2 separate regions of the Homo sapiens genome follow, and region 1 is linked to region 2. The links are contacts of gene promoters, found by promoter capture Hi-C in human tissues and cell types (Jung and others, 2019). All regions are on one chromosome and are shown on one strand. The core of a region is centred on a gene start or on the middle of the fragment in contact, and the rest is flanking DNA. Distances in the headings are between cores, read along the strand shown. Region 1 overlaps XPO6 (exportin 6). Region 2 holds the start of GSG1L (GSG1 like).

Region 1 (5,068 bases), core at 1,477-3,976, 130 kb before region 2:
AGGGACTCAGGCTACTTCCACTCCTGGTGGACGGTGAAGGGGAATCTGTGTGCAGAGATCACAGGGCAAGAGAGGAAGGATGAGAGTGAGAGGAGAGGCGCCAGGCCCTTTCAAACAGCCAGCTCTCAGGAACTAGGAGAATGAGAATTTACTTACCCTCACCCCCCGAACTCCTTGCCAGGGAGGGCATTAATCTTTTTATCAGATATCTACCCCCATGACTCAAACACCTCTCATTAGGCCCTGCTTCCAACATTGGGGATCAAATTTAGGCATGAGATTAGGTGGAGACAAACCACATCCAGACTATGGCAACACATAACATAAAACGTCACCATTTTAAAGTATGCAGTTCGGTGACATTAAGTGCATTCACCATGTTGTGTAAGAATCACCACTCTAGTTTCACACTTTTTCATCACTCCAGAGGAAACCTGTACCCATTAAGCAGTCATTCCCCTTTCTCCCTTGCCCCAGCCCCTGGTGACCACAAATCTAATTCCTGTCTCATGAATTTGCTTATTCTGGATATTTTATATAAATTATCATACACTATATGGTCCTTCCTTATCTCCGAATGCATAAAAAGATGACATAGATTAAGTAAAAGTTGAATTGAATCTGTATTTTGAAAATAGAAATCCATCTGTGGCAGCAGTCTTAAATTCAGCATATTTAATTGGCCAGGATGTCCCATGCCCCAGCCACTAGGAAGAAATAGTTTATACCAATAGTTACTGCCAGTGGACAGAGGGTTATAGACCTTGGGGTAGGATGGAACCTAAAATAGAGACAAAGACAGGAAAAGTATGGGGCTTAGAGAGTGAAAGCCAGTGAATGGCAGGCAGCACATTCCATGGTGGAATAAACAGAAAACTTCTAGGCATTTACCTTGATTTGGAGTGCAAATTGGAGAACTTGCAGGTAAGTGCAAGTTCTTCCGTGATCAAAAAAATAACCAGCCTAAAGAATGAATGTTTGTGACAGTGTCTAGTACATAAGACCTTAGTAAATGTGCGGAGTTTTGCTTAAGAGCAAGAGTGGTATTTGGGATGACAAGGACAAGCAGAGAGGATCCCCAGGCATCTCTTTCTCAGTGTTTGACATTTTCTCTCTTTCTTTTTCTTTTTGAGACGAGTCTCTCTCTGTCACCCAGGATGGAGTGCAGTGGCGTGATCTCTGCTCACTGCAACCTCCGCCTCCTGGATTCAAGCAATTCTTCTGCCTCAACCTCCCGAGTAGCTGGTACTACAGGCTCACGCCACCACACCTGGCTAATTTTTGTATTTTTAGTAAAGACGAGGTTTCACCATGTTGACCAGGCTGGTCTCTAACTCCTGACCTCAAGTGGTCCGCCCGCCTCAGCCTCTCAAAGTGCTGGGATTACAGGTGTGAGCCACCACGCCTGGCCATGTTTGACTGGGATCCTTGGGTGTGGGGAAATGTGTTTTTAGGTGAGTAGTTTTCATGGTTCCATATACATATATGTATAGAGCTTATTCACTATTTTTCATAGTTAGTAGGTGTTCTACAGTGTGGATGTACCTTATTTAACCAATCCTGCCTTGATGGAAATTTAAGTTGTCCCCATTCTTTTGTTTTACAAACGGCATTGACATGAAGATCCTTTACACCTAAGCTTTGGAGGAAAAATCACCAAAAGTGTATTGCTGGGTGAGGTTGTCTTTGTGTTTGAAATTTGATAAATATTGCTGACTTGTCTTGGCCCCCACTGAGGTGGCACCAGTTGTCTTGCCATCCCTGTATGAGAGTGAAAGATGTAATTTCAGTTCATTATGGTCGGTGTCATGTTGAAGCCCACAAGGAGTGAGGAGCTCTGAGGGTGGGGAAGGGGGAACTGCATTAGGCTTCACAGAGTTGGGGACCTTTTCGAGGAGTCAGGAGCATTCTAGATAGAGGAAATGGTGTGTGTGAAGACATGGAACTGTTATGTGGAGAGAAAAGGGTGAGTTTGGGTTTGGCTGAGGCAGAGGGTGGGTGGGTGGCTGTGGATGGTGAGGTGGGGACAGTAAGTCAGCTAGGTTAGGGCCAGGTGATGAAATGGTTTAATCACCCCTGGTGGTCAGGTAGCAAAGACCCTGGGCGGCAGTGGTGATGGGGCTTGCAGGTGAAAGATACTTGAGAGAGAATGTACGACCAGTCTTTTTAGCAATCTTTTTTTACCCCCGAAAAACTTTCTAGACTTGTTAGAACCAGAATCACAAAGCTGGGAAGGGCTTTAGTGCAGGGCTTTTCTGGTGCTCTGTAGGCCCATAGGGATTCTTGGAGGTGTCACAGACACTAGGTTTGGGAGTACAGACAGGCATTTGAGACCCCCTCCTCTACCCTTATTAATTAAGCAGTTTCTCATTTAGTCTGCTTTATATGGTGGGGTTCTATGCAATATTTCTTTCTTTAAAAAGAAAAAAAGTGTTTGCTGCTAGAATCATGAGTCTAGTCCCAAACTCTTACTGTCCTGAACACAGATGGAGGCCTGTGGGACACGTTTTCATTCTTACATTCTTCGTTTGCAGCAGTGAGAGGTGATTTGTATATAAAAATGAAAGTGAAAAGGCATTTGGCATTCTTGGGATGTTTTTGAGCATTTAGCTAATTTTTTATGTAGGATTTTTATTTTGTTCCTTTTTTTTTAAGCTCATTGACTCACCAGTGAAATATCTAGTGAAATAGTTTTGCTCATTTATGGATGAGGGTGCTAAGGGATTTACATCCATTGATGTCATTCCCATAGCTACTTGGTGAGGGGGAGTACTGTTGAAAGTTCATTTTGCAAGTGAAGAAACTTGAGCTCCGAGAGGTTAGGTAATTTGCTCAGGGGCAAGCAGATAAGTAATCAGGAAGTCATCATTAGATGCGACCTGCCCTGATTCCACAGCCCACACCCTTCAGTTCATGCTAAGGCCTTCCCAGGACAAGCGTACCCAGCCACCTGTTGGGGGTGGAAGGGCCCAGGAAGAAGAAGGGTGTTGGATTTCTGGTCAGTCTTGGCTTTGGGCTGGTGCCTGTAGAAGGGGCAGAGCTGAGAGACGGACTGAGTCACTTCTAGCAAAATTGGTTGAGAATCGTGGGACGGGTGATGCGTGCTTGCTGTGCGGGGATTGAAGGCTCATGGAAAACCCCATGTAGAGTTATCATCTTCTCTCTCCAGGGATGTGAGCAAGGCCAAGGTTATTGGCCGAGTACCTGTTTCATTTCACCTGTGCACCGACTCCCTCCAGAAAGGCGCCATCTGCTTTCTTGCTGCTCACTGCCACCACAGTCACCACTACCACTGTTTTGCCTTTCTAATCCAGTGCCTCGCCAGTGGGGTGGAGGGATGGAACTGTGTATAGTTCCAGTATTACAATATAGTTTTTTATATTGTACAAGTTTTAGTTTATTAGTGGAACCCGGGCACATGAAAGTCCCTGGTTAGAGAGTTGCTTTGCAGCGTCTTCTCCCTTTGTGGCTAGTAATGATCTGCGGGGATGGGAGGAGCATTGAGAACCTATTGGCCATGAAGAGTCACTTCCTCCCGACACAGATCTCTGCTTGTGCAGCGCCCCCACACTTCCTGCGTAATGCAGTGCCCTCAGAGATCCCCCAGCAGCTGCCACCCCGGCAACATTATCTATATTTGCAGGGATACTTAAGGACCCTTTGGCAATTGGCAGTGATATTTTGAGAGCCTTTGAGGAACGTGACTGAACATGAATTTTAAAAAAGTATAAAGGTGGCACTAGGTGTATTCAGAGGGACAAGCTGGTGGCAACTTAGGGGGACTTTGCCTTTATAAAAGGAGACCCACACATGGAGTTTACGTAAGAAGAACTTACAGTGAGGGAGAGATGACTGTATCAGCCAATACAGATGAAGAATGCTCCAGGAGCTTGCGGGGTTTGCCCACAGTGCCACAGACTAGACTCAGTAGAGCCAGGACTGGCTCTAATCTGGTACTTTCTCTGCCTGCCATGCTTGGCCCTGTACCCCTCAGTGGCAGCACTGTTTCCCATTAGAGAAAACAAACCTGTTAGTTTTCTCATTGCTTATGTAGAGGGTAACCTTCCTGTGTCCCCTCATTCTTGCTTTAGCCTACATTCAGGGGGGTTTTGACTGCACACCAGGTGGGAGCAGTATTGGGGCACATTCTTCTGGTCCTGTCTCCACCCTCTCATTTCTTCCTTTCCATAGGAGTGATTTATCTGATTGGTACACCAGGGAGAGCCTCACTCCATTGGTCCACATCTACCCAGTGTGAGGTCACTGCATCAGAACACTGCCTGGCTTTGTGCTTGAACTCTCTCCCCTGCTTACCCTTAAGAGAAGCCTGTCCTTAGCTGTGTCCTACCTTCCTTTTGTGGCTAGCACCATTCTTTGTCCCTAGGTCTGGAGGCGGGTGGCAAGGCCAACTAGAAATGGGAAGGGCGAGGCATTGCAGCTTTGCCATTGACAAAGAGGATGGTAGACTTTGGTTTGCTCTTGGTTTCTTGAGACTTTATAGCAACCGAGTGGAACCTGGAGGGGATGATTATGCTACCCCAGTTCCCAGTAGTAATGTGGTCTAGAGATTTTTACCAAAGTCAAATAATATTATAACTTTTTTTTTTTTTTTTTTTTTTGAGACGGAGTCTTGCTCTGTCACCCAGGCTGGAGTGCAGTGGCCCGATCTCTGCTCACTGCAGTCTCTGCCACCTGGGTTCAAGTGATTCTCCTGCCTCAGCCTCCTGAGTAGCTGGGATTACAGGTGTCCGCCACCACCACTCCTGGCTAATTTTTGTATTTTTATTAGAGATGGGGTTTCACCATGTTGGCCAGGCTGGTCTCGAACTCCTGACCTCAGGTGATCTGCCTGCCTCAGCCTCCCACAGTGCTGGGATTACAGGCGTGAGCCACCGCGCCCAGCCATTATGTTAACTTATTTAAAATGCCAAGTCTACCTGGGAATAATTCAGGATGAAGGTGGTTTTACAAGAGACTTGCTCTTAAATAGCACAGGTGGTAATAGCAGCTGAAATGAAATTACTCACCTGAGCAGTAGCGTTAATCATCATGTTAGATTTGCAGCATG
Region 2 (5,140 bases), core at 1,061-3,560:
TTACGAACTTTGTTCACGTTCTCTTTTCTTCCCAGTGCTGAGCATTCAGTGGGTGGCTCAGTGAGTGGAGGAGCATCTTAGATGGAAATTCCAAATCCCTCTGTGCATCCTCAGGTGTTTCTTGAGAGAGTGTGGTCCCTGAGACATATCTCACCTGGGCTCTCCTGGCTTTGAACATGCAGGACAGGGTTCCCAGCTGTAGGTCACCGAGCCCTGCTCACATGCACACCAACCACAGCCTCGAGTCCAAAGAAGTACCCTGTTTAGCACACATCGAGGGGCTGGTTTTCATTGGTACACAGACACTCATGATGAATACTGCATGCCAGTTTAAAAGTGCTACTGGAGGCTGGGTGCGGTGGCTCATGCCTGTAATCCCAGCACTTTGGGAGGCCGAGGCGGGCAGATCACTTGAGGTCAGGAGTTCGAGACAAGCCTGACCAACACGGTGAAACCCCGTCTCTGCTAAAAATATGAAAAATAGCCAGGCGTGGTGGCAAGCGCCTGTAATACCAGCTACTCGGGAGGCTGAAGTATGAGAATCGCTTGAACCCAGAAGGCGGAGGTTGCAGTGAGCTGAGATTGCACCACTGCACTCCAGCCTGGGCGACAGAGTGAGACTCCATCTCAAAAAAAAAAAAAAAAAAAAGATGCTACTGGATTCTTTACAGCTGTTTGGCGATGATGTATTTTCTCTGTCAACCAATACTCTCAATGCCACCATTATCACATGGAGGTCCTCTCTTTCAAAATAGTTGAGAATCTCTTGCACAGTGCCAGAAAAGGGCTCTAAAAGCAAGTTTGGAGACCCTTGGCCATCCTTCGTGCCTGCTCTTACCAGGGACGTTGCCCACAACGTTTTCCTCTCACCTACCCCCCGGCAGATTAGCAGCAGCTGACAGTGGGTGCCGGCTCACCCACAGGAGTAAGGCAATTCATAATCGGTTAACCTTGAATTCTGCAAGGCCTGCCACTCGGCAAGCCGGGGGTTGTCGGAGCAGTTCTCAGCTTGGGCAGAATTCAAATGAGCTCTTATAATCAACATGCAATTAATTGTTGCACGCCCTGAGCATCTGGGCAGTAAGTGCTGTGCAGCGCGAAGGGAGTTCAGGGAGCGTGGTCATCTTAGAGCAGAGGTGGGGACGGGGTTGCACACAGTTTCCACGTTGCACAGGAGAGCCTGAAGAGGTTTGTCTGAGTTTGGTCAACTGATCTTGGTTCAGATGTCAGTAACAGTGAATTATTAATTGAGTCTACTGTGTGCCAAATGCTTTTTGCAGCCATGATCTCATTACAGCAGCCCACTGTGATATACCTTGAAGGGGGGGGGGTCCTCCCTTTTTTATAGTTATGGAAATTGAGGCTCAGAGAGGGTAAGTGACCTGTTCAAAGCCACACAGCTGGTCAAGCCCTAGATATGCTTGATCCCAAAGTCAGTATGTTTGGCCACCCTGCCCCCACCCGAATCTTGAAGATTCTACCCACATTCACATGGTGTGCATGTGAGCAGGGTTGGCAGCCCCTGTAGGGCACCACTGCCTGGTAGCTGCAATAACTTTGTGGCCGGCATGGGCCCTCCTAGGGTTCTGCTGTTTGGGATCTCAGGTGGGTGCAGTGGGCTGTCTGGGGTACCCTGTTGCCACTCTTCCTGCAGTTGCATGCCATGGTTGGGAGCCCAGATGACAGTTTCATCCTTGGAGGGGAGCTCTTCCCAGATGCTGGAGGTGACACCCAGGAGACAGAAAAACGTTTCAAACCCTATAACCCAATACTCCAGGAGGGGCGCCTCCTGACAGATTCTGCCACTCCAAGTCCAGCATGGGTTGTCTTATCCAGGGGGTCTTGCAGCTCCCTGGCTGTGGGAAGCCCTGCAGGCTCTGCTGTTTAGAACCTTTGGAAAAACTCCTTTCTCAGGGTCTGGTGCGGGGGTCCTTTTGGGGATCCCCTTCTGGGACAGGGTCCTGCTGGTCCGTGTCCCTCTTGGGGAGCCCCAGCAGGCTCTGCCCTTGTCTCCTGGGGCAGGGCCTCTCTGGGTCTCATGAGATGCCCGCTCCCGGCGGGTTTTGTTGCCCCACGTCCGCCGTGGGGATCTTTTCTCAGGAGCGCCTTGCCTGGGATTCTCCTTGCGTCTCAGACCCTCACCCTGGCTCGGATTTCTTTCGGGGGCGTCCCTCCACTCCCAGGCCCCCGCCCGCGCCCGGCGTGGCGGCCCCCTCTCCCCGTGCGGGCGGGCTCCGGAACAGTGTCGCCGGCCGCCTGCAGGTGTCTCCCCACGGAGGGGCGCGCGTCCCTGCGCCGTGGCCGCTGCCAGGCGCCAGCGGCTCCTAGCCGAGGTGCACTCGCGCTCCGGGCTCCGGGCGCGCCGTAGCCGCTCCTCCACCGCCGCCCGCCCCGCCAGCCCGCCCCGCACGCCCCCCGCGCCGCGCCCCCACCCCGGGGTTGGGGGGGGCATGGGCCCGCGCCGCGTCCGCCGCCGCCGATCTCAGGCACCCGAGCCCCGGGGCGCGGCGGGCAGCGGCCGCTGACGCGGGGCGCCAGCTGCCAACTTCGCGCGCGGAGCTCCCCGGCGGTGCAGTCCCGTCCCGGCGGCGCGGGCGGCATGAAGACTAGCCGCCGCGGCCGAGCGCTCCTGGCCGTGGCCCTGAACCTGCTGGCGCTGCTGTTCGCCACCACCGCTTTCCTCACCACGCACTGGTGCCAGGGCACGCAGCGGGTCCCCAAGCCGGGCTGCGGCCAGGGCGGGCGCGCCAACTGCCCCAACTCGGGCGCCAACGCCACGGCCAACGGCACCGCCGCCCCCGCCGCCGCCGCCGCCGCCGCCACCGCCTCGGGGAACGGCCCCCCTGGCGGCGCGCTCTACAGCTGGGAGACCGGCGACGACCGCTTCCTCTTCAGGAATTTCCACACCGGCATCTGGTACTCGTGCGAGGAGGAGCTCAGCGGGCTTGGTGAGTGCGCGCGGGCGGCGGCCAGCTCGGCTCCGGCTCCCCCGGGGCGGCGCGGCCATCGAGGCCCGAGCCCCGGACCCGTTCGCCCTCCTCCCGCCGCCTGGGCCCAGCTCCCAGCGCTCCGCCTGGCTAGGGGCGACGTTCCGGGGCAGGGGGCGCGCGCCGTTCCGGGGCCGGGGACCAGCATGGGGGGACGTGCGGGACGCCCCGCCGTGGAGAGGTGCAAGGCAGAGCTCCTACCCGCTGCGGACGCCCCGCGGCTTTGGGGACGCTCCCGCGCCCCGGGAAGGCGCCCACCCCCGCTGCCGGTCGGAGGGGCGCGCGCTGCTTTCCGCTCCTGAACTCATCTCCACGCTCGCCCCCTCCTCCTCTTCCTTTCGCGGGGCACTAGATGCCCCCACCCACCCCGGAACGCCCCTGGGGGTGGGGGTGATGCAGGGACTCCTGCTACCAGCCGCCCCTCCTGCCGCAGATCCACAGACCCGGGAGCCTTCCACCCCCATCGCCAACCCACGCCGAACCTCCCAGACGGGAGTGGGGAGTGGGGGAGTCCCGCGGGCTCCCGGAAAGCCGCACCCGCCCAGAGGCACCCCTATTGCCAGACGCCAGGGAGCCCTCTGTATCCTGGCCCCCTCCTGGGAGAGGCAGGCTAGGGAACTGGGGACAGCTGGGCAAACTCCGGGTCGAGGAGTCCAGGAGGGCTTAGCTTAGCACAAGGCTCCTATTAGGTTCGGTGGGGGACTGACTTTTCAGAAGGCAGATCAGACTGTCCCCTTTGCCTGGACCCCCTCCTCTACCCTCCAGAGGCAGCCTGGGCTGGAGTGCGTGTTTTGGAGGCAGACAGCCGGGCTGTGGCAGGGCCCAGGGGACAGCTGCCGGACAGCTGGTTGTGCCACACAGCAGGTAGAGCTGGCCCGAAAGACGTGGTATCTCTGAGCGGGTGTCCAGGCATGGACACCCTCCTGAGTGAATTGACCTCTTTCTCCAAGGTTAAAACTCCTCCCTGCATGCCTAGCTCCTCAGTGTGGACACCACACATATGTGTGTGCTCAAGGGTGGGTTACAGCAGACCTCCACCCTTAGTTTGCCCTAAATAAGCCAGTGGCCTAAGTGGTTTAGAGGGCAGAGGGAGGAAGCTGTGAAGCGAACCCAGTGAAAAGCTCCAGGCCTCTGCACAGGCTGCATCCTCTGTCTGGAATGCCCTTCCCCGCCCCACCTCCTTCTTCAGGGGCTCCTTTCACTGGGACTCTCCCACCTGCCTTCCATGTCAGGATACTGAGGAGGGACAACCTTGTGAGCTCCCCGTTGGAGGGAGGGTCTCCATCTTTGGATCTCACCACTGCGTTTATCTCCCTGCCACACTTGGCACTCCCTGACATTTTCTGGGGCCTGTTTTTGGTCACTAGCTTATAGTCCCCACTCCCCATAGGATGTCACTCTGTGAGGGCCAGCCCGGTTGGTCTTGTTCACTGCTGCCTCCCAGTAATGTCTAGCGCATAGTAGGTCTTCAATAAACATTTGCCGGGTGCATACTGGATGGGGTTGGGATGATGAACCGGAGGCTTCCTGCGGTGCTGCCTCCTCTGTCTCTCTTCTGGGGGTGGCTGACCAAACTTTTCTGTGACTTGAGCCAGGCTGGCCGTTTGTCAGAGATACATGGTGTTTGAATATGGACCTGCCCCTGATTGGTTTCATCCCATCAGACCCACTTCTGGTTTACACTCAACACTCAAATGTTTACTGTGGGATGCAATTAAAATTATTAACTTCAAAAGGCATCTTGGCCAAAATTCCCTGCCTTCCGCACAGCCCAACCCTAATCTCTCACACGGAGGCCTCGTAACACCTTGTTGTCAGGAACATCTTCGTCCTTGGAGGTAGACATCTTGCTACTGTACATCTTTCTCCAAGTTCAAGAAGGTGTTTCCAAGGCTCAGGAGACCCAGCCCTGGGGAGATACCACCTCTGCCTCCCTTCCTCTGTGCACACACCTGAAAATACAATGAGGCATCTCTGGCACCGGAGTGGTCCTGTCTCTACCTCTGTGGAGTGTCCTGGTCCAAGCTGCTCAGCTGAGCCTCTTAATTGTTTGGAGTCTCTGTTGGCTGCTCCCTGAAGGTCACGGTCCCAGTACTTGCTACAATTATTTCCCTGTAGTTCTTTCAGGGCTTGACTTGGGATATTTAAGTATT

What was found. The method cuts DNA at HindIII sites, captures the fragments that hold promoters and counts their contacts. A contact is called where the count stands out against the background at its distance.
Region 1: a contact is called between a fragment that was not itself captured here and the fragment with the promoter of GSG1L in region 2, in 1 of the 25 tissues and cell types used here (aorta).

The regions. Positions count from the first base shown.
Region 1 is chr16:28,191,814-28,196,881 of GRCh38, reverse strand. The region is part of intron 1 of XPO6 (exportin 6); the gene reads left to right. Among named protein-coding and RNA genes, the nearest start is that of XPO6, 18 kb to the left of the region's middle. RefSeq lists an enhancer at 3,103-3,332 and a silencer at 4,587-4,759. The HindIII fragment of the contact is 4,311 bases long and covers 571-4,881 here.
Region 2 is chr16:28,060,884-28,066,023 of GRCh38, reverse strand. It overlaps GSG1L (GSG1 like), which reads left to right and starts at 2,310. Exons shown (of 7, transcript NM_001109763.2): 1 at 2,310-2,948. The coding sequence starts at 2,600. The HindIII fragment of the contact is 12,466 bases long and covers 1-5,140 here.